Regions from separate parts of the Homo sapiens genome. Here all the other regions are linked to region 6. The links are contacts of gene promoters, found by promoter capture Hi-C in blood cells and fetal thymus (Javierre and others, 2016). All regions are on one chromosome and are shown on one strand. The core of a region is centred on a gene start or on the middle of the fragment in contact, and the rest is flanking DNA. Distances in the headings are between cores, read along the strand shown. Region 1 overlaps PRAG1 (PEAK1 related, kinase-activating pseudokinase 1). Region 2 holds the start of PRAG1 (PEAK1 related, kinase-activating pseudokinase 1). Region 3 has its middle 44 kb from the start of FAM85B. Region 4 overlaps ERI1 (exoribonuclease 1). Region 5 overlaps PRAG1 (PEAK1 related, kinase-activating pseudokinase 1). Region 6 holds the start of CLDN23 (claudin 23). Region 7 has its middle 4.6 kb from the start of MIR4660.

Region 1 (3,530 bases), core at 905-3,404, 340 kb before region 6:
CTGATTTAATATACAACAAATGGAAACTACTATTAAACTTTATACTTTAAAATGGTTACGATGGTGAATTTTATGTTATATGTAACATATATACATATTTTATGTGTATGTCTATTTTTTAAAAACTACATAAAAGGTTAAGAATGCAGCTTTCCTTAAAAACAGACATAGTGTTATTTTATGAAACTGTTTATATTTAATTTATATTAAGTATATTGTGCTATAGATTTCATTCTCTTAGTTATTTCAGTCAATACCAGTATGAGGTTCACCCATGTTTCTGGACATATTTCTAGTTCATTGCTTCTGACTGCTATTAAATAGTTTATTTCATAATCATAACATTTTACTTACCTATTTCTCTAGAGATGAATACCTGGACTTGCTCTAACTCCCTGCTACTATAATGTTATGACAAACTTCCTTGTTTATGTCCCCTTACTGACCTGTGTGAATATATACTCAGGAATGAAGGTTGTGGGGACAAGATGTAGTCTCATACTTAATTTAACAGCTGTTTAATAGCCATTTTCCTGTATTTTTGCTGAAATTTGGAATTATCCCACTTTGTAATTGTCATCAATCTGATGGACATAATGTGCTATTTTACTGTTTTATGCTTCTCTGATTATTAATGAAGTTAAGTAGCTCTTCAAATTCTTGCCCTGCATTTAGCTTTTCCCTCCTGTTAACTGCCTATCCATGTTTTTGCCTGTTTTTCTACTGGTTTCCACATATTGTTCTGCTTGAATTACAAGAGCACCTTACATGTTAATGCCTTGTCAGTCTTTGATACACTGCTTTAATTTCTCACCCATCTATTAACTGCTGATGGCATCCTCAGTTCAACAGAAATCCTTAATTTGATGAAGTCAAAGCCATCATTTTATGGCTTATTCTTCTAGGGTCTTAAAAATGCTGTGAATGTTTTTAAATTTGCTTTTTGGTCTTATTTTTCTCATTTGGATCATTATTCCATCTGCAGTCCACTTTTACATACACTATATGACACTATATGGCAGGATTTCAATGTTGTTTTTTTTTTTGTTTTCTCCATACAGTCAACAAGTGTGCCAAAATCATCTCGTAAGCAATCTGTACTTTTCCTACCAATGTATGGTCACGGCTCCACCTAAAAGAAGTCTTCAATATTTAGCGATCAAATGAATGTCAAGATGGAATCTCAGACCCTGAACTGTAAGGATCTTCTCTATTCTACATGCAAAGTACTCCTTATCTTTCTCAGGTTTCTGCTTTTTGTAGGAAACACAGACAAGCATTGAGAGTGTTTGGGATCAAGGGTCTGGAAATTGTCTGTACAGACAATTTCCTTGTTTCACGTCTTGAAGATGACATGAATATAGAGAAGATATTTTGAAAGATTTGAAGAAAGGATACCAAGGAAATATGACAGGTCAGCAAATATCTCTGTCCTGGTTTTCTTCTATTTTCTCCTAGGGAGACATGACCTGTTTTCAATCAAGCATCTCTATAAAAATGATGGTCTGTCTTTTCACCAGTGGAGAAGATTCAGAAAAACTATAAGTAGTATGTGTTAGGAAAACAATAGTTTTGTTTTCATCTTCCCAATTTAAATTATGTTACATCACTGAATTTTCATTGTTAAACTATCCCTCCCAAAGATTCTGACACAGCTCCTGCATCTGCCACCTCACTCCCCAATCCTGGGCACTGAAAATCAATACAACGGCTGGACATGGTGGCTCACACCTGTAATCCCAACACTGTGGGAGGCCAAAGCAGGTGGATCACCTGAGGTCAGGAGTTCGAGACCACCTGACCGACATGGAGAAACCCCGTCTCTACTAAAAATACAAAAAATTAGCCCGGCATGGTGGCAGGTGCCTGTAATTCCAGCTACTCGGGAGGCTGAGGCAGGAGAATCACTTAAGCCCAGGAGTTGGAGGTTGTGGTGAGCTGACATCGCGCCATTGCACTCCAGCCTGGGCAACAACAGTGAAACTCCAACTCAAAAATAAATAAATAAATAAATATATGCAACAAGCCAAAGAGAATAAGGCTAAGTGGGCTGAGTGCAGTGACTCACACCTGTAATCCCAGCACTTTGGGAGGCCAAGGAGGGTGGATCACCTGAGGTCAGGAGTTTGGGACCAGCCTGGCCAATGTGGTGAAACCCTATATATATATATATACACACACATATATATATACAAAAATTAGCTGGACATGGTGGTATGCCCCTGTAATCCCAGCTACTTGGGAGGCTGAGGCAGGAGAATCTCTTGAACCCAAGAGGTGGAGATTGCAGTGAGCTGAGATCGTGCTTGCACTACAGCCTGGGTGACAGAGTGAGACCCTGTCTCAAAACAAACAAACAAACAAACAAACAAAATAAGGCTAAGTGAAAACACATTGCTTAATAAGATTTAAGGATAGAAACAGTAAATTGAAGGTCTATAAAGGAAAATAATCCTTTAAATAATGGGTAATAAACTTAATAGTAACTGTTATTTACTAAAATGCAGAGTTCCACAAATGGTTAAAATTCATGGGACGTTCATAATCACTCACTAAGAAGAAACAAGACATTTTGGCATTTCGGTCTAAAATTAGAGTCTCTATTCAAAGAGAATGGCCGTCATCTGCCAAACAGAAGTGGCTAGACAGAGTCCCCCTACCACCCAAAGGCATGGGAATTCTTTTTTTTTTTTTTTTTGAGACGGAGTTTCACTCTTGTCATCCAGGCTAGAGTGCAATGGCATGATCTTGGCTCACTGCAACCTCCAACTCCCGGGTTCAAGCAATTCTTCTGCCTCAGCCTCCTGAGTAGCTAAGATTACATGCGTCTGCCACAATGTCTGGCTAATTTTTTTACTTTTAGTAGAGACAGGGTTTGACCATGTTGGCCAGGCTGGTCTTGAACTCCTGACCTCAGATGATCCTCCTGCCTCTGCCTTCTAAAGTGCTGGGATTACAGATGTAAGCCACTGAGCCCAGCTGGGAACTCTTAAACTCTTGAATTACTAACAAAAATGGGTATTAACCACTTGAGATTTTGCACTTTATTTTTATCTTTTTTTTTGAGACAAGATCTGACCTTGTCACCCAGGATGGAGTGCAGTGGTGTTACCATGGCTGACTGCAGCCTTGACCTCCTGGCTCAAGCAATCCTCCCACATCAGCCTCCCAAGTAGCTGTAACTACAGGTATGTGCCACCATGCCCTACTCATTTTTGTAATTTTTTTTGAGGTAGTGTCTCGCTATGTTGCCCAGGCTGGTCTTGAACTCCTGGGTGCAAGTGATTCTCCTGCTTCCCAAAATGGCTAGGATTACAGGTATGAGCCACCGTGCCCAGCTACATCATGCATTTTAGAAGACAAATTTTAGATTTTATGGCTGAATCAGCAAATAGCCAGCACATGACATGTATCTGCACCCCCACCTCCCTACAACCTGCAGACACCACAAATAGATGATGGCCAGCATTCCTGATGCATGGGCTCCAAATGATCAGAATTGGCATGGAGGATGCAACCCAAGTGTTCTC
Region 2 (3,557 bases), core at 60-2,559, 320 kb before region 6:
ACATTCACCTAAAATTTTTTTCTGTATGTTACAGTTAAATTAATGCAACGCCAGTAAAAGGAAAGAAATATGTGTGGAAAGTGTCTGAACTTCAGCACACTCCACTGGCCAGGGCTGACCAGGCAGAAAGGAGAAAGTGACAACTTTACCACCCACTAGCCCCCTGCCTCCCTACTCACGCAGAGGGTAAATTACGATATTCACCCAACTTTTCCTTTTCTTTTTTCTTCCTCCAGTGCTGGAGGAAAGAAAATCTCAGAGGGAGGAATGTGGTTTTGCACCCACTACAGTCGAAACCAACCAGACCTCAGGAGAGAAAAATAACTGCGGAATTCCCTAGGGCTTTCTGTCAAATTTTCTTCTCAGAAAGGGAAGGGGAGAGGAGTTGTTAAGAATAGTTCAGGCCAGTGATCAGGAAAGCCTTCTGAGCCTGACTCCGCACTGAATGCATCGCCAAAACTCCTCGCCCCTAGACCATTGGGCTTTGCTATCGGCTCTGCAAAACCATGTGCAGGGAGAGCTTACCTGAGAGAAACGCACACACCGTGAGCTGGCGCTCTCCGCTGCGAATGCCCGGCCGCCTCCATGCCCAGCAGAGGATTCTATGTTCTAAGTGTGTGTGTCCCCGGATACCAGCAAAGGTTAATAACGTGCTCACAGCATGCGTTTCAGAGGGCTCAGCCAGGGCTCGGGGAAAAGGGCATCATCTCGTTGCCTCTGGAGCCCCGCTGCTGCATACCCTGCACCCCCAAACCATCCCCCCGGGTCCTGGTCCCAGCAGCCAGGCGGCCTTCCGTCTCTCCCCCTTGACAATACTCTAGCGGTGGAAAGCAGTCCTCAAAGCGCTTCAGCCTCCGGCCGCAGACAGAGCAGCAAGACCAGAGAAACCATCCTAACAGTCGGTCCTCCCTCCTGGAACTCGTAGGAAAGTTTCCCCGTTTTAAAGAGCGCGATTCTCGAATGAATCAAAAACACCCTCCAGCTCCTCGGTCCTCCCGGCCGGGCGCCTCCCTGCACCTCGGGCACCACCCGGGGCTCACGCGGCCCCGGCACTGCCCACTTCCCGAGCGGTCGCCTGTCACCCCGGGGGTAGCCCGCTCGGCGATCGCAGCGCCCCTCCAAAGCTCCCCTCTGCGACCACGCTCGCCAGACAAAAAGAGGCCGAATTTGGAGAGCGCGTCGCGGGCTCACCTCTGGGCTGCGCTCCCCCGGCCCCTCCGTCGGTCTCCGAGCCGCCAGCCGCCCGGCCGGAGCATTGTTCGCAGAAGGTCTGCGCGCGGTGCGTGCCCGGCCGCGGGCGGGTGGCTTCTGCCTGGGCCCGGCGGCCGGGTGGCAGCTGTGAGCGCGGCTCCGCCCCCTCCGCCTCCGGTGACGCCGCCCGCCCCAGCTCACGCCGCACCTCCGCAGTCCCTGCCGCCGCCCGGCCCCGCCTGGCCCGCGCGCCCCGCCGCCCGGCTTGCGCCTGCCGCTCCCACCCGGCGGTCTCCTACCCCCAGGGCCCCGACTCCTCCAAAGTCTCCAGGCCCCGGGACTCCCTCTCTTGCCCACCCTCCCGCCCCGGACCGGCAGGCTCCGCCCCCAGCCCCAGACTTGGCGCGGGCTGACCCCCGAGCCCAGCACCCGTTTGCACCCCCTCCTCGGTGGGGACCCTGCACAGCTCTGGAGGGGCGAGCTCTGGCGTTGCAATCCTCCTTTTGCCATCATGCGTGTATAGGTGCCCGGCATCACTTCATCCAGCCGGCCCTGCGGGACCCTGGGAAGAGAGGGAGAAGGAAGGGGAAACGAGGAAGTGTGGGGTCGGGAGTGGAATACAGGTCAGGGTCCGAGGCGGGCTCTGAAAGCCACGTGAGCACAGCGAGCCTCAGCTCTCCCTACCTCTGGGAAGAGGGTGGCGCCGGAGGGAGCAGGGCTGGAAGTCCCGGTGGCGGATTCCAGGTTCCGCTCAGTCCCTGGACTGCAGGATTCTGGCAAATTGCTTAACCTCTTTGAACTTTAGTTTTCTGGATGTAGAATGCAAGCGTTGCACTGCAGGGACCTGGCCTTCTACCATGCTGGGACATCCAAGTCTTCCGCAGGCCAGTAATACACCTGTGTTTACACCGTTTCCAGTGAGTCATTCACTGAGATAGAACGAGTTCGAGATAGTCCTCGGGCTAAAAAAATCTTTTCACTGGGAGTATAATAGCTTAAGACCCAGTCAGTCCTGTAGCTTGACCTGGGTGTTTACTCGGGGAGCCAGGGCTATGGTCACCTCCCAGGGCCATGCCGGGTGGGAAGAATTCAGTGAAATGGAATAGGAAGAGGACCCCCCTCCCCCACAAAACAATACCTGCGGCTTCTCTCGCCCTCTATCCCCTCCCCAGGAAGGCAGTTTATTTTGACTCCAGTGAAGGTCCTCTGCCAGTCAGCCTGCGAGCCCCCACCCACTGAGAGGAGGAAGATGGGCCCCCACCCCCACCCCCAGATCCCTGGCTCTCCTCTTTGCTGCTGTGGGTGTGGACAGAGAGGGAAGATGTGTATTTGAGGTTTGGCTTCTGTGTGAGGAAAGGGAAAAAAGGATCCAGGGAATTCTTCCTCATGTTCCAGTGACACCCATGCCTCCTAAGAGGACAGAATCTGGGGGAAGCTGTAGAGGGATGGGAGTGCAATGGACATTCCTTAAGGACCTACCCAGCGCTAAGCAATCCTATGAGGAGAGCATCATTATCCCCATTCTACAGATAAGAAAACTGAGGCTCGGGGGCCTCACAATTTGCTGGGGTTCCTCAGCTGAAAAGTGGTAGTACTAAGATTGGAACCAAAGGCTGTCTGGCTTCGCTGGTAGGCAAGTCTACTCTGCCACTCTGCCCTTGCCAAGTGCAGGTAGTCCAGCCCTATTTTTCTCTCTCCCCTAAGTGGAGAGAAATCATTTGAACAAATACTGGCCGTGCGCGGTGGCTCACACCTGTAATCCCAGCATTTTGGGAGGCCGAGGCTGGCAGATCACCTGAGGCCAGGAGTTCAAGAACAGCCTGGGCAATGTGGTATAACCTCATCTCTACTAAAAATACAAAAATTAGTCGAGTGTGGTGGTGGGCGCCTGTAATCCCGGCTACTCAGGAGGCTGAGGCAGGAGACTCACATGAGCCAGGGAGGTGGAGGTTGCAGTGAGCTGAGATCGCACCACTACACTCCAGCTTGGGTATCAGAGCAAGACCCTGTCTCAAAAAAAAAAAAAAAAAAAAAAGGAAGGGAAACTTTGGTTACACTTCATGAGCATCCAACAGAGCTGAAAGATCCAGACCCTACCAAGACTCAAGAGGGGAAGATGTTGATTAAACAGGTAGGTACAAAGTGGTCTGCAATGGAGAAATACAAAAGTGACTTCAGAAAGTGTGCAATTCATTTACACTGGGAGAGGGCAAACTAAGATGTTTGAGAAGTTCCTGGTTCTCAGGATTCAGGCTAAATGTTTCACTTCTTTCCTCTGTAAGAGAGACATTGACCTCACAGAATAAAGGCTGTGCTGAACACATAAAAGAAGCACTTACTTTTGCACTTTATTTTCTTCTCTTTAC
Region 3 (3,536 bases), core at 387-2,886, 430 kb before region 6:
AGGAAGCTTCTGCAGCTCTACAGGGACCAAAATAACTAGTTCATTGTCTCCACTTAGTGGCCTTTACTGTCACAATGCCCTGTGTACCTCCCCAAGAATGTCCCTTTCTATAGCAATAGGCCTGGCAGTTGATGGGTACCTAGAGGTTGGGGGTTCCACTTCAAAAGACCCCTAGTCAACCCTGTGGTGTGCTAAGGTCAAAATAAATCATAATCTGGTAGCTGTCCATCCCCCAGGGAACACATTTCAATGGAAGATGCCTGAATCTCCTTCAGATTGTTGCAGAGCTGATATTCCAGAAACCAGAGGGCCTCCTGGGCCCTTCAAGGTGTCTGAGGCCACCAACCCTATGGCTTTCTGCCTCTAGCTTCCCTCTTTTGAAAACATCCACACCACTCTGCATAGCTCCCTGCGACACCAAGAGCACCCGCCAAGGACCCAACAGGGGCTCCAGGAATTGATCCACTGTGACAATGAGCCCACTTTCCTTCTTTGAAATGCAGGCTCCAGAAATCTTTAGAGGCTTCTCCCAGGCAAACCTAGAGACATTCTAAAGGAGAAGGCCTGCTGGGAAAGGGGTCGGGGGCGGGTGTTAGTTCTGAGCCATTTTAGTTCTTCTAAATGTGGTCTGCATGACTTCTCAGTCATGGCCCCCTCTTTGGGTCTTGCCCGATACTCTCTCTCCGCGGTTCTCTTCTGCCTTGTTTTTCTAACCCATTTGGCACCTTACCTTACTTCCCATTCATTGTTTGGCTCCTGGGATTGCTGTCCCAGTTTGGAATGTTTATTTTGGCCCTGACTTTGCATTCTTCCAGGGACTTGGTTTTCAGTATTTACCTATCTGTACATTGCCCCATGACTCCCAGAGAGAAATACCTCCTTCCTCTGCCCCACCCTACCCACAGACTGAGTGTGTACTCTGGCCAGCCTCATCTGAGGCAGAGATAAGTCCATAATCGACAGTCATCCTTCCTTTCCTTCTACTTTGTGAAAGCTGCTGTTCCTTAAGTGTCTTGCAGAGGCAGGAGAGAGGTCATCGGAGTAAACCGATTCTATCCCCTATGGGAATTACTGGTACCCATTACCTACTTAACACTTCAGGTTATATCTTAAATATATGTTTGATTTTTAGAAGTCAGGAAATGTAACAATACAGAATGAATTATTTAATATTTGGGGTGCAAGAAGCCCCAAGCTGGTGTTAGTCGCTCCTTCCTGGGAGATGGAAACTCCTCACATCCACTGGGAGCTGTGTCTTGTCCCCACCTCTTTCCTTACTCAACTTCTGGATAAACAGATCCCATAAATGTTTAATTTTTTTTTCCAGTGGCTTTTGTGGTTGTCATAATGGGCATCAAAGGTATGGAAGAACATGGGTGCCCCATTTCTTGTGTGATTTGGGGGTTTGGGTAGTGAAATATACATTTGTTCTAACCAATGTTGCTTCTTTACTATTTCCTTTAAGTTGTTGCAAAAAGCTGGCATATGGAACTGCTGGCTTCGAATTCTGTCTTAAACATCCCTCCAATTATTACTTTTGTTTTCTCAGCTTCACTTAGTAGAAAAACTCCATAGAATGAAAGACATGGAGGGAAATAAAATTAGATTTAAGCAGGGCACGGTGGCTCATGCCTGTAATCCCTGCACTTTGGGAGGCTGAGACAGGTGGATCACTTGAGGCCAGGGGTTCGAGACCAGCCTGGCCAACATGGTGAAACCCTGTCTCTGCTAAAAATACAAAAGTTGGCCAGGCATAGTGGTGAGTGCCTGTAGTCCCAGCTATTCGGGAGGCTGAGGCAGGAGAACCGTTTGAACCCAGGAGGCAGAGGTTGCAGAGAGCTGAGATTGCACCAGTGCACTCCAGCCTGAGTGACAGAGTGAGACCCTACCTCAAAACAACAACAACAGCAACAACAAAATCAAAAACAAACAAAAAATAAATTAAAGAAAGGGATCAATTAGATTTTAAAGTAGAAAGTGACTGATGTCTTGAATTTCAGGTATCAATCCAGGTTCTGTTCCTTCCTTATACCTTGATGTAATGAACACTTATGAATTGCAGATAAGCAAAACCAGCTGCTAGGCATGGGGAATATTCACCTGCTTTATCTCTATGATAGATATTTTAAAATGTAATGAAACTATCAAGGTTAATAAACCAACTATCAAGGCCATTAACAGGTGACGTCTGGTTATATTCATGATCCACATGAACCTGAGTCAGAAATGCATATAAACTGTTGTTTGATTTTAGAGGCTCTAAGGGTAGGGAAACATCTAGAAATAACCATTTTTCTGTACTTCTCACCAAGTCTTTACAGAAAAAGTCACCCTAACTCCTAAACCCCCAAACAGGAGCCTTTGAAATTATTTATGCAGACAGTTCTCTCAATAATTGCCAAGCCCAGATCATTAGTAGTAATTACTCCAGTTGTTTTTATAAGGCTGATAAATAAAAGGTTTGAATCAACATATAAAACTTCCTAGAATGTACAAGATCTGTGAAACTCTTGTAACATAAAGGGATATAATGATACTACGGAAAATCAGCAAAGCAAACAGTCTCATTTTGGGATCTCATTTAGCGTCCACATACAAACAGGGACACTGTCATGACTATTCTCAGGAAACTTCCCCTGAGCCAGTGAACGATTTTCCAGTATCTGCTCAGGGCTACGGTCCAGTGATAACGGGTGACACATGAGGTAAGAGGTTTATGTCAGCGTCAAGTTGATATTGACAATAGTTTGCAAGTTTATTTCAATGAGGTGGACTTCGAGTTTGCGTATATGTACATTCTTTGGGTAGGATGTTCACTTTCCATCCTAGAATGATAATAATTTTGTTATCTCAAAAAATGGAATGATTTCTGGAACATTTATCTATTTACCATGGCAAAGCCAGGAAATGTGTCTATTAACATTCAAAATAAGAAGCATATTTGTAGCAAAAAAAAAAAAAAAAAACAGAAAAAAGTAGTGTTTCCTAAGTTGAATACCTTCCAAACATTTATGCGTTCTTTGTTTAATTTGAACCACTGACAATAGTTAGTCAAGTGCTATAGCCCTTTTTTAATTTTCTGTTTGAGAAGCATAGACTGAGAGGAGCCAAAAGTCTGAGAAATTCAAAATTACTATAAAACTGCCCCATTTTTCTTAATTAAAGAGTAGGCTAGTCTGATTCATAGAGACAGGCCTGAATTGGAGAACCCTGTATAAAAAACGCAATTTATGGCAGCACTTGACAGGGATAGGGGAATCAAATTAAAAGCTTAGAGAATTTTAAAAAAACTAATAAAAATGAATCATTTGTTACTCACTTATTATTTGTATATAAAGGCTACTACGAGGTTGGTTTCTCATGTTGTTTTGGAAAAAATGCATTTGCCTTAGCGTTTAAGTAGACTAAACATGTCTCTTCGTTAATCGTCACTGGCAGTGTGGTCTGTCTGGAATGACTCCAAATTCCCAACTAATAGAGTCCAAATTAATAAACTATGTTGGCTTTGCCAATATTATGCTGGTTACAGCTACATC
Region 4 (3,825 bases), core at 234-2,733, 320 kb after region 6:
CTTCCTACTATAGCTCTATTACCTTTCAGTCAGAGCACTCAGTGTTCATACTCCCGTGACTATGGAGAGTGTCCACAACTTTCCCCTGGATGTAATAATTTACTTCCGCGGTTGTTTACTTATCCCCTTACTCTCCATTCAAACTGTAAGTCACTTCTTATGACTGAGAACACTCAGGTAGTCTGTCAGGTTTTCTTTTTTCATCTGTTTTTCCCTTGCAGACTATCTTCCTGGAGCCTTTAATCCTGTTCTAATCTGAACTGTTAGTTCTTCAGGCTTCTTTTAAAATCATCTTAGGGGATTTCCTTTAATTCTCATGCATTAGATACTATGTCATTTTTCTCCCTTTACAGTTTCATTTTGGAGAAGCATGTTCTAAAGTAGTTTCATGAGAAAAGGTGCTTTTCCTTACAGACTCTTCTGTTTTAACAGTCTTTTAAAACTGAGAAGTATGCATGCAGAAAAGTAGAGTTTTGCCGATTGCTATAAAGCAAATACCCTTGTAACTTCCACCCACTTAACTCCCTTCCTTCCTCCTGGAGTTAACCCTAATTCTTCCTTTCATGGTAATCATTTTCTTATTATTCCTTATAGCTTTAGTATTTAAATGTATATCCTTATATTATATAGTTTTGTCTGGCTTTGAGCACGATATAATTAGTATTATACTGGCTATATTATTTGTTTTTTTTGTTTTTTTTTTTTTTTCAATATTATGCTTGAGATCCATCCACGTCTTGTATGTCACTGCAGTTCATTCACTTTATTGCTATTAATTCCATTGTGTGACTATACCAGATTTGTTTATCTGTTCTACTTTGGCTGGCCATTTGGATTGTTTTTATTTGGGGCTTCCATGAAGAGTACTTTTATAAGCATTGTTGTGCATGTCCCCTGGTGTCTGTGCACTCGTTTTTCTAAGAAAAACCTAAGAGTGCAGTTGCTGGGTCATGGGATATGTACATCATTGACATTACTAGATAATACAAAAATAGTTTTCCAATGGAATTGTACCAGTTTGCACTCTTATCAGTGCTATGTGAGTTTATAGTTACTGTAAGTTTTTGCTAGCATCTGATATTGTCATACATTTTAAATGTTTTGTAAATCTGACGGGTGTGTGATACCATCTCATTGAGGTATCAGCTATCTGGATTGCTTTTTTGCGAACCCCTTATTTAAATTTCTGACTGTTTTAAAAAAAATTGGGTAGTCTGTTTTTTCATTACCTGTGTATTTTACTGGTCTATAGATTTTTACTTTGGGTGCTAGTCCTTTGATTATATTTGATAATCTTTTTGTGTGAATTTATTTTGTTTTTTGGTTTATTTGTCTTTGAGATGAAGTCTCATTCTGTTGCCCAGGTTGGAGTGCGGTAGTGCGATCTTGGCTCACTGCAACCCTGTCTCTTGGGTTCAAGCAGTTCTCCTGTCTCAGCATCCCGAGTAGCTGGGACTACGGGCGCCCACAACCACAACTGGCTAATTTTTGTATTTTCAGTAGAGACGGGGTTTCGCCATGTTGGTGAGGCTGGTCTCGAACTCCTGGACTCAAATGATCTGCCCGCCTCGGCCTCCCAAAGTGCTGGGATTATAGGCGTGAGCCACTGCACCTGGCCTTTTGTGGATCTTTTTTTGTGTTTTTGAACTCATTTTGTGAATTTTTTTAAAAATTGTGTTATGGAAAATTTCAAACATAACAGAAATAGGTATGAGTCCTCATGACCCAGGTTCAACAATTAGAAACTCATGGCCAGTCATGTTTCATGTGTATCCCCACCCACTTTCCTCTTCCTTATTATTTTGAGGCAGAAGTCAGACATTATGTTATCTGATCTGTAAAAATTTCATTACGTAGCTCCAAAAGCTAAGGGTCATTTTCTTAGAAACACAGCTACCATACCATTGTGACATCTTAAAAAATTAGCAGTAATTCCTTCATCAAATAGTCATAAATATTTTCTTTTACCTTTTGTGTGTTGAGTCAGATCAGGATAAGGTTCACAGATTTGTAGTTGGTTAATATGTCTCTTAAGTTTTTTAGTCTTTGATATGTTTGGTATGTTAATACATCTCTTTAGTTTTTTTTAATCTCTTCTTTTTCTTCCCTAGCAGTTTATTTTACTTTATTCTTTTAAGAAACTGAGTCATTTGTCCTGTTGTGTTTCCCCTTATCTGGATTTTGTAATCATATCCTGGAATGTGGTTTCAGAGGTGTCTCTGTCTTTTGTATTTCATGTCAGTTTATACTCCAGTTGAGAAGCTCGATCCCCTTTAGGTTCTTTTTTTGCTACAACTCCCAGATGGAATAATTTTTATTATTAAAAATTAATAAACCTTAAAATAATTTTCAGTCAGTTATGCATAAATCTACAGCTCACAGTATATTAGTGTAATCGGAAAGTTGTAGATATTATAAGGCAATAAAATGCTCCCTCCTTTTTTGAGTAAACAGTGGTTTCTCTTTGTGCACCTGTTTATTTTGGCCAGTTTGTTAGCCTGCTCTTTTTGTGTGTGGTTTTCCCCTCTTCGTAATAGATAACTATAATGCAATTAGTTGTATAAGTAGAAGAAACTTATGTTTTCCTTCTTTTTTTGTACCTTATCTAAGACCTAAATAAAACTCTCTGTCACAAGTTTCTGCTGTATATAATGCTAATAAGGTATATTATATGGTATGTCTAAAAACATTTTTTTTTTAAGTAAAAATGACTTTTTTTTTTTTTTTTTTTTTTTGAGGCGGAGTCTCACTCTGTCTCCCAAGCTGGAGTGCAGTGGCATGATCTCAGCTCACTGCAGCCTCTGCCTCCCGGGTTCAAGCAGTTCTCCTGCCTCAGCCTCCCGAGTAGCTGGGATTACAGGCATGTGCCACCACGTCTGGCTGATTTTTTTGTATTTTTTAGTAGAGACGGGGTTTCACCATATTAGCCAGGCTGGTCTTGAAGTCCCAACCTTGTGATCCGCACACCTTGGCCGTCCAAAGTGCTGGAATTATAGGCATGAGCCATTGCGCCTGGCCAAAAATGACCTTCTATCCAGTCTTTCTTGGGGGCAAAGGGTGGAAATGGGTAATTAAACTTGGAGCTTAATTTAAAAGGCAAATAACTGTAATACATTTCTGTGAAATAATTCGCTTAGGATGGGACTTGGTTTTTCTAAAAGTAGGCTGAAACAATATAAATAAAAATACAGTTTAAGACAGATTTTTGTATAAGATTTTGGGGGAAATCCCAAACTTTCTTTGTGCGTGGCATATCAAGCGCAAATGTGGAGTTAGCATTTACAAAATTATACAGCTGTTTCTTTTTGCTTTTCTCTTCTTTTTTCTCTTTTCTTTTCTTTTCTTTTCTTTTCTTTCAAGACGGAATCTCACTCTGTCATCCAGCCTGGAGTGCAGTGGTGGGGTCTCAGTTCACTGCAACCTGCGCCTCCTGGGTTCAATCAATTCTCCTGCCTCAGCGTCTCAAGTAGCTGAGATTACAGGTGCCTCCCACCATGCCTGGACTAATTTTATTGTATTTTTAGTAGAGACTGGCTTTCACTATGTTGGCCAGGCTGGTTTTGAACTCCTGACCTCAAATGATCTGCCCCCCCTCGGCCTCCTAAAGTGCTAGGATTACAGGCATGAGCCACCAGGCCCAGCCTCTTTATGTTTTTATAGGCCTATGTATATGCATTACAATGCTGTTGTTGAAGTAAAAGGAAAGGATGAAATACACCTCTTGACTGTAAAATGTGTTTTCTTTTTTTTTGTCCTCCCTTTACAAATACTCAATTTTAGATTGAATTTAAGATAAGCTCACATGGATTCTTTTTCTCAGGAAAT
Region 5 (3,549 bases), core at 265-2,764, 360 kb before region 6:
GAGTGGCCAACTCACATCTTTGCAACCCGCATTACTAATAAAGTACTGGTAGGCAGAATAAAAAAGAGTGCCTATAAATCTAAGAAACAGACAAATGACCCCATTTTTAAAATGGAAATGAACAGGCAACTCACAAATGAAACAAGAAAGGCCACTCAACACATGAAAAGATTATTAAAATTATGAATGATCAGATTGTAAATAAAACAAGATTTCATTTCATACCCATCAGATCAGACTGACAACGTCAGATTTTGTTAAAGATATAGGGAAATAGGAACTCTCTCACACTGTTTGTGAGACTGTAGATTGGTAAACTCACACACAGGACAACAATGTGATGAATCTTGTAAAGTTAAATACACACATTCCTATAATCCAGTCACTCCATTTTTGGGTATATGTCCTTGAGCAATGTTACTTAAATAACTAGTAATGAATGAATGGCTAAGTCACTTGAGTGGGTCACTAGCAGTTTACTGACCAGCAGTTTATTTTAACAAAACAGAACAGAACAGAAAATATGAAAATACATAGAAAGGATTTGTGAAACTTTGTTTTGTAAAACTTTTGTTTCAGATGTGTGTTTGTTGGGTCATGATATTAATGTTTCTTATTGTGGGTCATGGTTTTTAAAAAAGGTTAAAAATTACTGCTCTAGAATATGAGTCAACAAACTTTTCCTTAAAGGGCCAGATGGTAAATATTTTAGGCTCGTGGACCATAAGGGTTCTGTTGCAACTACAGAACTCTGCTGTTGTAGCTGGAAAGCCACCATAGAAATTAGTGGCATGTTTTCTAATAAAGCTTTATTTACAAAAACAGATGTCTTGCATGTGGGCAATCAGTTACTGGCTGGTCTTGACCAGCCTTGTCCAATAGAATTATAATGCAAGCCATATATGTAATTTTAAGTTTTCTGGTAACCACATTTAAAAAATGTAAAATAAATGGGAAAAAATAATTATAGTAATACATTTTATTTAACATAATGTATTCAAAATATTGTCACTTTAAGCAGTAATCAGTATAACCTATATCAATTATTAATGATATATTCCATATGTTTTTTTCATCCTAAGTCCTTAAAATGTGGCATGCATTTTATATTTACTCACATTGCAATTCTGACTAACCACATTTTAAGCTAGTGGCTACCATACTGTGCAGTACAGAGCTGGAGAAACTCTTATAAGTGGAGAAAGGTGTTCACAACGTTACAAATAGCAAATAACCTTCTAAACTGTTGAACGGTGCTTCCACAAAGGAATGAAAACATTGTGGTATAGTCTTTTGGTGGGATACTTTATAGCAGTAGAAAAAAATGAACTGGATTTTAGGGTAGCAATATGAAGAAATATTTTAAAATGCTGAGTATTAAAAGTAATTTACAAAAGGCTCAAGTAAAATGTGATGCCATTTGTATAGAGATTAAAAACATATAAGGATATATACATGTTTTACGGAGCACATAATAAAATGTAAATGATACTCATCAACTTCAAGACAGTGATTGCTCTGGGTAGCAATGGGAGGTTGAAATGGGAATTGGATAGGGAGGGATCTTCCACAGTAGCAGTAACATTTTATTTTTAAAAAATCTAAAGCAAATGGCAAAATGTTAATATTTGAAAAATCTTAGGGAACACCTGCAGGTCAGTTAAATTATTATCTGAACTTCACTGCATGCTTGGAATATTTGATACACTAAAAATGAAAATTTCTAGTGAGAAAGCAAATCACAGGGCCTGAATGAGGCAGGGGGTGGCTGCTCCTGTTGATCTGTTGTTGCGCCTCTGGAAGGCAAACAACACACAAAATAACACAGTGGGATTTCCATCAGACCCCTCAGTGGGAACAGGCAGTCTCAACGAGGGTTGGTTCCACCACAGAGCACCCCTGTGGCTGGAAACAGTTGCATCATAGACCTAACTACTCTTTTAAGACTTGGGAGTTAATTCTTCTGTCTATAGTTACTATAGCAGAAGTCACTGTTGTCAAAACTCTCATCAAGTGAATGCAGACAAAATTAGTCTATCCCTGTGATTACAGGATAAATTATCCGCAGGGTGTGTGTGTGTGTGTGTGTGTGTGTGTGTGTGTGTGTGTGTGTGTTAGGGAGGAAGGGAGCCTCCCAAAGTGGACTTTGGTAAATCTTAGTTTCTAAGCCACAAGTGGAATTTTCATGGCTTTTGGGATCTAACTGCTTCTTCTTTATTGGAAAAGCTTGAGAAATCCAGCTTCCTGCCAGGTCGCTAAAACCCAACAGGTGACCAGGCATCGTGGCCCAAGCCTGTAATCCCAGCACTTTAGGAGGCCGAGGTGGGAGGATCACTTGAGCCTGGAAGTTTGATACCAGCCTAAGCAACATAGTGAGACCCTGTCTCTACAAAAAAAAAAAAAAAGAAAGAAAGAAAGAAAAAGAAAATCAGAAATCAGTAGGCATTTGGAATGCTCAGTTGTAAATGGGGATATAACAGGTCTTCCAAAACACACGTAGGTGACCCTTTTGCTTAATAGCAAAATCTTAAGGCTGGGCACAGTGGCTCACACTTGTAATCCCAGCACTTTGGGAGGCAGAGGCGGGTGGATCACTTGAGGCCAGGAGTTCGAGACCACCCTGGCCAACATGGTGAAACCCCACCTCCACTAAAAACAAACCAAAAAATTAGCCAAGCACGGTGGTGTATGCCTGTAGTCCCAGCTACTCAGGAGACTAAGGCAGGAGAATCGCTCAAACCCGGGAGGCGGAGGTTGCAGTGAGCTGAGATGGCACCACTGCACTCCAGCCTGGGTGACAGAGCGAGACTCTGTCTCAAAAATAAAATAAAATAAAACCTTAGGACTGATGACTCTTTCTTATGAACTGCATTAAAAAGCATCCGCCCTGGAAACCTGTGCAATCTGTACTTTTTGAGAATTGCCACTTTAATTAGGGCATGAGCAAAACCACATCAAATTAAAAAATGAACAGGAAGCTTGCCATCAAAGCACAGACTTACAATCAAGTTGTTTGGGTCTTTACACTGTGTGTAAAATAGACTTCTTAAGAATCCCTGGAAAAGGCTTACTATTGCAATGATGACTTTTCTGAGCCCTAAAGGATTGTTCTATCAGATGTGAGGCCAAAAGACAATGAGTGTACTCAATGCGGTATAACAAGACTACTTAGCCTTTTTTAAAGGCACTTTTCCTTCATTAATAATAATTTGATCTGTCTTTCACAAAACTGGTGCAAACCATCTGCAAAATACTTCCATGGACAAAAACCTCATACTCCAGTCTTTTCTGTCTGTTTGGTGAATAACATTCTTATCATCTACAGTGAGAGTACAGTCTCCACAGATGTCTTCACTCACGTAGTGTGATAAAAGACATCTTGTGCTTAACCTCAAACTTCCTTTCGGCCTCCCACTGTTGATTACATACAGTCCAGGCAGGCAGGGTGAAAGGTACAGGCCAGTGGCACGGTGTCCTCAGAGCCCCAGCCCTGCAGCTGCTGCCCAGTGTTTTGAGAATAGCTTTTCCCTCCATTGTCCTTAGAGAGAG
Region 6 (3,605 bases), core at 1,009-3,508:
TCACATGAAGCATTTATGAAGTGGCAGTGTCACACATGATACCTTCTGACATGTATGAGAGGGATGGCAGACTGATTCCTGCTTTAGATAGTTAATCACCACACAGTTAATGAAACAAGACAAATTTTAAATGATGCATAGGCCAGGCACAGTGGCTCACACCTGTAATCTCAGCACTTTGGGAAGCCAAGGTTGGCAGATGAGTTGAGGTCAGGAGTTCGAGACCAGCCTGAGCAACAAGGTAAAATCCCGTCTCTACTAAAAATACAAAAATTATCTGGGCATGGTGGTGGGTGCCTATAATCCCAGCTACTAGGTAGGCTGAGGCAGGAGAACTGCTTGCTTGAACCCAGGAACCAGAGGTTGCAGTGGGCCGAGATTTTGCCGTCACACTCTAGGCTGGGCAGCAGAGCAAGACTCCATCTCAAAAAAAATTTTTTTAATTAAAAAAAATTAAAAGTGATGTATATATCACTATTACATAAATGATGCAACAGCATTATTCACAATAGCCAAAAGGTAAAAGCAATCTAAGTGTCTATGGATGGAAGACTGGATAAACAAAATGTGGTATTTATGCACAATAGAATATCATTCAACCTTCAAAAGGAAGGACATTCTGACACATGCTACAATATGGATGAACCTGGAGGACATTAAGCTCAGTGAAATAAGCCAGTCACGAAAGGACAAATACGGTCCGATTCCAGTTCTATGAGGTACCTAAAGTAGTTAAATTTATAGAGAGAAAAAAGTAGAATGGTGATCACCAGGGCCTGTGAGGGAGGGAGGAAAGGAGAGTTAGTGTTTAGTGGGTACAGTGTCAGTTTGGGAAGAGGAAAAAATCCCAGGAGTGGATGGTGGTGAGGGTATCACAACAATGTGAATGTATGTCATACCAATGAGCTGTACACTTAAAGATGGTTACAACGGTCAACTGTATGTTACATATATGTTACCACAGGTTTTTTTTTTAATTTAAAAATATTCTTTTAAAAAAAGCAGTCACTGTCATTCCTAGTGTTGTCCACTCTGGAATATTCAAAATTATTTCAAACCAATGCTAAATTAACTTGAATTTTAAAAATAGTTTTAATTTTAAACAATTATAAAGGCAATACGTTTTCATTGTAAAAATCTAGAAAATACAAAAAAGTGTTATTAAAGGATAATTTTTAGAAAAAATGTAAACATCGTGACTTTCACACAAATATAAAATGAATATGTGTGAAAGAGGTTATTTAACTCATTATTGAATAAGGAAACCAGTATGATGTTAAAACCAAAGAAGCTGGCCACTTGCCTGCAGTCCTAGCTACTCCAGAGGCTGAGGCGGGAGACTCACCTGAGCCCAGGAGTTTGCAACCAGCCTGGGCAACACAGCGAAACTCCCCAACCCTGTTTAAAATAAATAAATAAATAAATAAATAAATAAATAAATAAAAGAAAAAGGAAAAAAAAAAAGCAAAGAACAAAAGGACACACATATACAGACAAACAGGAATGCTAAAATGAATTTACAAATCAATGCCATACTGGTCAGTATCCATTGGACAATAATCATTCCACTGGGACGAACTCATTAGCCTTGATGTTGGCAAAAGTCATTTGCAATACTACAGGCTTTCTATAATTTATAGAGTTGTAAAATAACCTACAGACGAGAAAGGCCACAGTACACTGTAAAATTAAATAAACCTGCAAAAAACGCTAAGCAGGACATCCGGGAACACTGGTCCCTCTTTCTAGTCCCCTTGAAAGTCTCACAAGGCTGAAAAAGGAAAGTAAAATCCTTGTGTAACCCTTCTGCCCAGAAGTACACTGGCACAGATTCTTTAGAGACGAATTTAATCCAGAGTGTGGAGCCTTTATTAAGGAAATAATCCGGTGCAACGTTCTGGGACACGCTCCTGGACTGGGTGGGCTTCTGCACACTCACCCAGCGCACCTCCAATCCCCGGGAGCGCTCGGCACCGCCCACTTCTCTGCGAGTGGCTGCAAGTTGCAGAGCAAACCAGGGGGCGATCTGGAACCCTCTGGGAGTAAAGGGCTAAGCTATAAGCGCAGGGTCGACGGGCAGGGACCGGAAACAAATTCTAGGAACCGAGATCCGCTGAGCAGCAGGGAAGCTGCGCAGCCACCGCGTCCCGCCAGCGCCGCCTCTTTCCCTCCCCGCCCACCGCCCGCCTGGCCCGGCGGGGCGGCGCGAGGACCCAGGGGCGGGGCGACCTTTGCTCCGGCCGTGAGCAGTCCAGGCCAGGCGTGGCCCAGCCGCCCGGCTGCAAGGTGGGGTGTCCCCGCCGCTCGGATCCCCATCTCACCTGCCGCGGGCGAGGTGGCCCCGCCGCTTCCTGCGCTCACCTCGGGTCCCTCCCTCCCGGGCCAGGTTTGGCCGCGGCAGCCGCCCCTGGGCGCCCGCGCCCGGACCCGCGGTTTCGGTCAGACCCGCCCGCGGGCTGGTTTCGATTAGGGCCAGTAGGAGGGCGGAGCGGCCGGGACGCCAGGAGGGAACTAGCCTAAGTGGGGACGGTCCCCGTGCAGGAGACAAAGAGCGTCCCTGGAGCGATCAGGGCTCAGGAGCCCGACCCGGAGCCCGGGGCGTCCGCGCTGACTTCGGGTCCCCGGAGCCTGGGGCACGGCAGGGAGAAGACGACGGCGGAGAAGGCGACAGCGGAGAAGGAAGGCAGGCTGCAGGGGCGCCGTCGGCGCGGCGGGCCGGGATGCGGACGCCGGTGGTGATGACGCTGGGCATGGTGTTGGCGCCCTGCGGGCTCCTGCTCAACCTGACCGGCACCCTGGCGCCCGGCTGGCGGCTGGTGAAGGGCTTCCTGAACCAGCCAGTGGACGTGGAGTTGTACCAGGGCCTGTGGGACATGTGTCGCGAGCAGAGCAGCCGCGAGCGCGAGTGCGGCCAGACGGACCAGTGGGGCTACTTCGAGGCCCAGCCCGTGCTGGTGGCGCGGGCACTCATGGTCACCTCGCTGGCCGCCACGGTCCTGGGGCTTCTGCTGGCGTCGCTGGGCGTGCGCTGCTGGCAGGACGAGCCCAACTTCGTGCTGGCAGGGCTCTCGGGCGTCGTGCTCTTCGTCGCTGGCCTCCTCGGCCTCATCCCGGTGTCCTGGTACAACCACTTCTTGGGGGACCGCGACGTGCTGCCCGCCCCGGCCAGCCCGGTCACGGTGCAGGTCAGCTACAGCCTGGTCCTGGGCTACCTGGGCAGCTGCCTCCTGCTGCTGGGCGGCTTCTCGCTGGCGCTCAGCTTCGCGCCCTGGTGCGACGAGCGTTGTCGCCGCCGCCGCAAGGGACCCTCCGCCGGGCCTCGCCGCAGCAGCGTCAGCACCATCCAAGTGGAGTGGCCCGAGCCCGACCTGGCGCCCGCCATCAAGTACTACAGCGACGGCCAGCACCGACCGCCGCCTGCCCAGCACCGCAAGCCCAAGCCCAAGCCCAAGGTCGGCTTCCCCATGCCGCGGCCGCGGCCCAAGGCCTACACCAACTCGGTGGACGTCCTCGACGGGGAGGGGTGGGAGTCCCAGGACGCTCCCTCGTGCAGCACCCACCCCTGCGACAGCTCGCTGCCCTGCGACTCCGACCTCTAGACGCTT
Region 7 (3,818 bases), core at 921-3,420, 340 kb after region 6:
CTTGAACTCCTGACCTTGGGTGATCCTCCCACCTTGGCCTCCCAAAGTGCTGGGATTATAGGCATGAGCCACCGCACCCAGCCAAGAGATTTTTAAATGAACAACCTAACAGAGTACCTCAAGGAACTGGAAAAGCAAGAACAAACCAAACCCACCTGGGGGAAAGAAATTAGATGTAGTAGAATAAGATAAGCATTAGGAATTCCTCAAGGCCAAGAGAAATGTCTGCACAGAAAAGAGAAGGAACTTGGAGGCTGCATTGCCAGAATGCCTCACCCAGCGTATGTTTTGTACGCTGTGTCCTTGGTCCTCCCTTTGCGATAATTTCTCTCTGTGGCACACAAGATTTCAACTATCCCTTCTCTGCAAAAGGTTCCTAAAATCTATTGCCCTGATCTCTCTTTTGAGATCCAATTTCTTGAGTATTTCATAGGTGTCACCAGCGTTTTAAATTTTATACATTAAGAAACAAACAGATGCTTATTTCCTCAACTGCTACGCCCTCTCCCGCCTCCAACACACACACAGCCTACTCTTGTGTCACTCAAGTCAGGGAACACCCTCCCATTATACTCAAATCTGCCAGTTCCCTGTTCTTTGAGGAGGTAGCGTCATTTGTCACACCGCAGGCCTTCTGGGGCTTTGTGGCCCTGGAGGAAGCCTAGATGCGATGGGTCCTTGTGTCCAGAATGAAAGTTAGCTAACAAAACTGGAGGGAAGTGTTATGCTTTGAGGAGGTAACACAGGTTGAGCATCCCTAGTGCGAGAATCAGAAACGATCCAAAATCTGAAGCTTTTTGAGTGTTGTCATGATTTCGGATTAGTGATGCTCAACGAATAAATATCAATATAATACGGATATTCCAAGATCTGAGAAGATTCAAAATCTGAAACATTTCTGGTCCCTAGCATTTCAGAGAAGGGATGCTCAACCTACACGTGCACCTGCTTCAGTCAGTTACCCTGCATGCTCCCACGCGCAGTGCCGTATGTCCCCCGGCACATGCTCTGCAGTCTGCAAGGATCTGGAGAAGAAAGGTGTGGCTGCACTTCCTGGCAGTAGACACTTCATTTCTGCTGTTGGAATAGATTGTGTTTGATTCTACTCTTACGTCTAAGGGCATCTCTTTAGGTTTCTGGCCTTGGAACCATGCTTGACTGTGGAAGGGGTACATAATTCGGATTTATTTTTAAGGTGTTATTCTACTTCTTCGTGTATAATTGATGCAAACCATTTCTGACATCCTTCAAAACACTTGTGTCTTCTTGAAACTCCCACCTTTAAGACAAGCAATGAGTGTGTTTTTGTGTGGCTCAGATATGTAGGTGAAACCTGTGTATGCAGCACCCTCCCCCAACCACCCAGTTTCAAGCCCAGCTTTTGTGACGCTTTTGTGACTCAATTATGAATAATCAGAGCTGTGCCTGGACCCCATCATTCTGTCTTACTTTTTACATTCTTCACCCAAGCATGTAGAGGCCAGGCCTAAATCAAAGAGCTCAGAGGAAGTGGTGGTTCTTTGGAGTTCAGGAACATCTCTTATGGAAGATGGAGACAATTGTGGAGAAATCTTTTCATCATCCATGATAGGCAGATGAGATGCAAATAGGCCTAGACTCACTTTGGTAGAAACTTTTAAATAGATAGTTCTAGAAAATTATTATGTATTTGGTATTCCATGAGAGGTTGGGCAATTTTGGAAGCTTTTTTAAAGTTCAGTCCAGTGACACACTATCCATAATTGTGTTGTTTATTGGAGATATTATTTTTGTTTTATTTTCGTTGGAGACAGGGTCTCACTATCTTGCTCAGGCAGAACTTGAACTCCTGTGCTCAAGCCATCCTCCTACCTCAGCCTCCTGAGTAGCTGGGACTACAGGCCATAATTGTATTGTTTATATTCAACAAAGAAATATTTACTGAATATTTAATTCTAATTGAGAAAATAAGGCATAAGCAGGGAAAGATAGTTAACAATGTAAAGTAAGTTTCAAAAGAGGCCTACGGTGTAGCATGGTGTTTAAGGCTATAAGAGATTGGAATTAGACCTGGGTTTAGATCTTGGTTCTGAGACTTACTGGTGGTGGGACCTCAGCAAGTTACTTAACCTTTATGAGCTCCCAATTTTCCTTACAAAACTCTTCATAGGGTTGTTGTCGGAGTTAAATAGGATATCATCTGAATTATGGGTAGTGAATTACAGCTGATTTAGCGAGGGTATCAGAGTAAGATAAAACATCTTCAAATAAAACATCTTCAAAATCCATCATGGTGCGAAAGGATGTCCTTGTTAGCATGGCATGCTGGATGCAGGGCAACAAGTCTAGAGCTCCTTACATTTTCTCTGATTAGCGGATAAGTGATCCCGGATCCTGGAATGGTGCTGAGATTGTTGAAAGAAGCGAGGTGACTTTGGTGTGGGAATCAGGAGGATGTGAGGAACAGAAGGGAAGCCAGCGACCAGGTCAGCAGACACATCACTGCGTCAGTTCAGTAGGAGAGTTCACACTGGCCCCCATACAGGTAGGTCTAGTTAGCAAATTGCCAACTACCCATCATCAACTGGAGATGATGGAGAAATAATTACAATCCATGATGTGGCCAAAGTACACAGAGGACAGTGTAGGAGCAGAAGCAAAGCTTAATGGACTAGGGGGTCAAAGAGGGCTCTTTCAGGTGGAAACACAAGCTAAGCCTTGAAGAACAAATCATGACATTAGAAAGAGAAGCAATCGTTTACCAAGCAGCAGACACAGCATGTTGAAGAAACAGAAACACAGAAACATGAAACACCACTGGAGTCTCCAAGACGGTATTTTCCCAGTGGAGTTCTCCTTTTCCTCAATGTGCAGATAGAGATTCCAAACCTGCCCTTGACTCTCACCCTGACCTGCCACACCTGCATCATCATCTTGCTAACACTGAGCCAGATTTCACATGGTGAGAACTGTTCTGAAATCTCGCCTTAGAGTCCTGACCACGAAGCCCTTAAGAGTAGTAATATTGCCAGGCGTGGTGGCTCAAGCCTGTAATCCCAGCACTTTGGGAGGCCGAGTCAGGCGGATCACGAGGTCAGGAGATCGAGACCATCCTGGCTAACACGGTGAAACCCTGTCTCTACAAAAATACAAAAAATTAGCTGGGCGTAGTGGCGGGCACCTGTAGTCCCAGCTACTCTGGAGGCTGAGGCAGGAGAATGGCGTGAACCAGGGAGGTGGAGCTTGCAGTGAGCAGAGATCGCGCCACTGCACTCCAGCCTGGACGACAGAGTGAGACTCTGTCTCAAAAAAAAAAAAAAAAAAAAAAGTAGTAATATTACGTTCAGCCCTAAGCTGGCTTCTCAGATTTCCACTAGACTGGTTCTACAGCCAGTGCTCTGTAGGGTAGGGACTTCCCCATCCCACTTACGTATACTTGCACTGAAACGAATTGCTCACTCCAGCTGTATAGGTCTAGCCTCCACGAATAGATAGCTTAATAGGCAGGCTCTCATTAGACTTTAGTAGAAACATTCATGGATACCAAAAACTGTGTTTCAGTGGCTCTCAAATCTGATGTATTGACCCTGGGCATGGTGGCTCATGCCTGTAATCTCAGCTACTGGGGAGGCCAAGGCAGGAGGATCACTTGAGCCCAGGAATTTGAGATCAGCCTGGGTAACATAGCAAGACCCCTATTTGTATTAAAATATAAATAAATCTAATTTATCATCAGAATCTATAGAATTTTTTTTTTTTTTTTTTGAGATGGAGTCTCACTCTGTCACCCAGGCTAGAGGGCAGTGGCACAATCTCGGCTCACTGCGACCTCCACCTCC

Evidence for each region. Contacts are between HindIII fragments. The CHiCAGO score rates a contact against its expected background, and 5 or more counts as called.
Region 1: a fragment that was not itself captured here is called in contact with the fragment with the promoter of CLDN23 in region 6 in 1 of 17 cell types (total B cells); the score reaches 5.5 in total B cells.
Region 2: the fragment with the promoter of PRAG1 here is called in contact with the fragment with the promoter of CLDN23 in region 6 in 1 of 17 cell types (M1 macrophages); the score reaches 5.7 in M1 macrophages.
Region 3: a contact is called between a fragment that was not itself captured here and the fragment with the promoter of CLDN23 in region 6, in 15 of 17 cell types (total B cells, naive CD8 T cells, M0 macrophages and 12 more). The highest score is 17.8, in total B cells.
Region 4: a contact is called between a fragment that was not itself captured here and the fragment with the promoter of CLDN23 in region 6, in 4 of 17 cell types (naive B cells, M2 macrophages, total B cells and 1 more). The highest score is 7.4, in naive B cells.
Region 5: a fragment that was not itself captured here is called in contact with the fragment with the promoter of CLDN23 in region 6 in 4 of 17 cell types (total B cells, M1 macrophages, M0 macrophages and 1 more); the score reaches 8.2 in total B cells.
Region 7: a contact is called between a fragment that was not itself captured here and the fragment with the promoter of CLDN23 in region 6, in 1 of 17 cell types (total B cells). The highest score is 5.1, in total B cells.

Annotation. Positions count from the first base shown.
Region 1 is chr8:8,363,633-8,367,162 of GRCh38, forward strand. The region is part of intron 3 of PRAG1 (PEAK1 related, kinase-activating pseudokinase 1); the gene reads right to left. Among named protein-coding and RNA genes, the nearest start is that of PRAG1, 21 kb to the right of the region's middle. The HindIII fragment of the contact is 5,911 bases long and covers 1-3,530 here.
Region 2 is chr8:8,385,130-8,388,686 of GRCh38, forward strand. It overlaps PRAG1 (PEAK1 related, kinase-activating pseudokinase 1), which reads right to left and starts at 1,310. Exons shown (of 6, transcript NM_001080826.3): 1 at 1,192-1,310. RefSeq lists a silencer at 1,013-1,692. The HindIII fragment of the contact is 9,968 bases long and covers 1-3,557 here.
Region 3 is chr8:8,269,733-8,273,268 of GRCh38, forward strand. No RefSeq gene overlaps it. Among named protein-coding and RNA genes, the nearest start is that of FAM85B, 44 kb to the left of the region's middle. RefSeq lists a silencer at 655-949. The HindIII fragment of the contact is 3,264 bases long and covers 5-3,268 here.
Region 4 is chr8:9,021,082-9,024,906 of GRCh38, forward strand. All of the region lies in intron 6 of ERI1 (exoribonuclease 1), which reads left to right. Among named protein-coding and RNA genes, the nearest start is that of ERI1, 20 kb to the left of the region's middle. The HindIII fragment of the contact is 4,770 bases long and covers 1-3,825 here.
Region 5 is chr8:8,342,978-8,346,526 of GRCh38, forward strand. All of the region lies in intron 3 of PRAG1 (PEAK1 related, kinase-activating pseudokinase 1), which reads right to left. Among named protein-coding and RNA genes, the nearest start is that of PRAG1, 42 kb to the right of the region's middle. The HindIII fragment of the contact is 1,419 bases long and covers 806-2,224 here.
Region 6 is chr8:8,699,679-8,703,283 of GRCh38, forward strand. CLDN23 (claudin 23) reads left to right here and starts at 2,259. Exons shown (of 1, transcript NM_194284.3): 1 at 2,259-3,605. The coding sequence starts at 2,721. The coding sequence ends at 3,599. RefSeq lists a silencer at 1,992-2,611 and an enhancer at 2,085-3,052. The HindIII fragment of the contact is 12,864 bases long and covers 1-3,605 here.
Region 7 is chr8:9,041,951-9,045,768 of GRCh38, forward strand. It overlaps a transcript of ERI1 not described here. Among named protein-coding and RNA genes, the nearest start is that of MIR4660, 4.6 kb to the right of the region's middle. The HindIII fragment of the contact is 937 bases long and covers 1,703-2,639 here.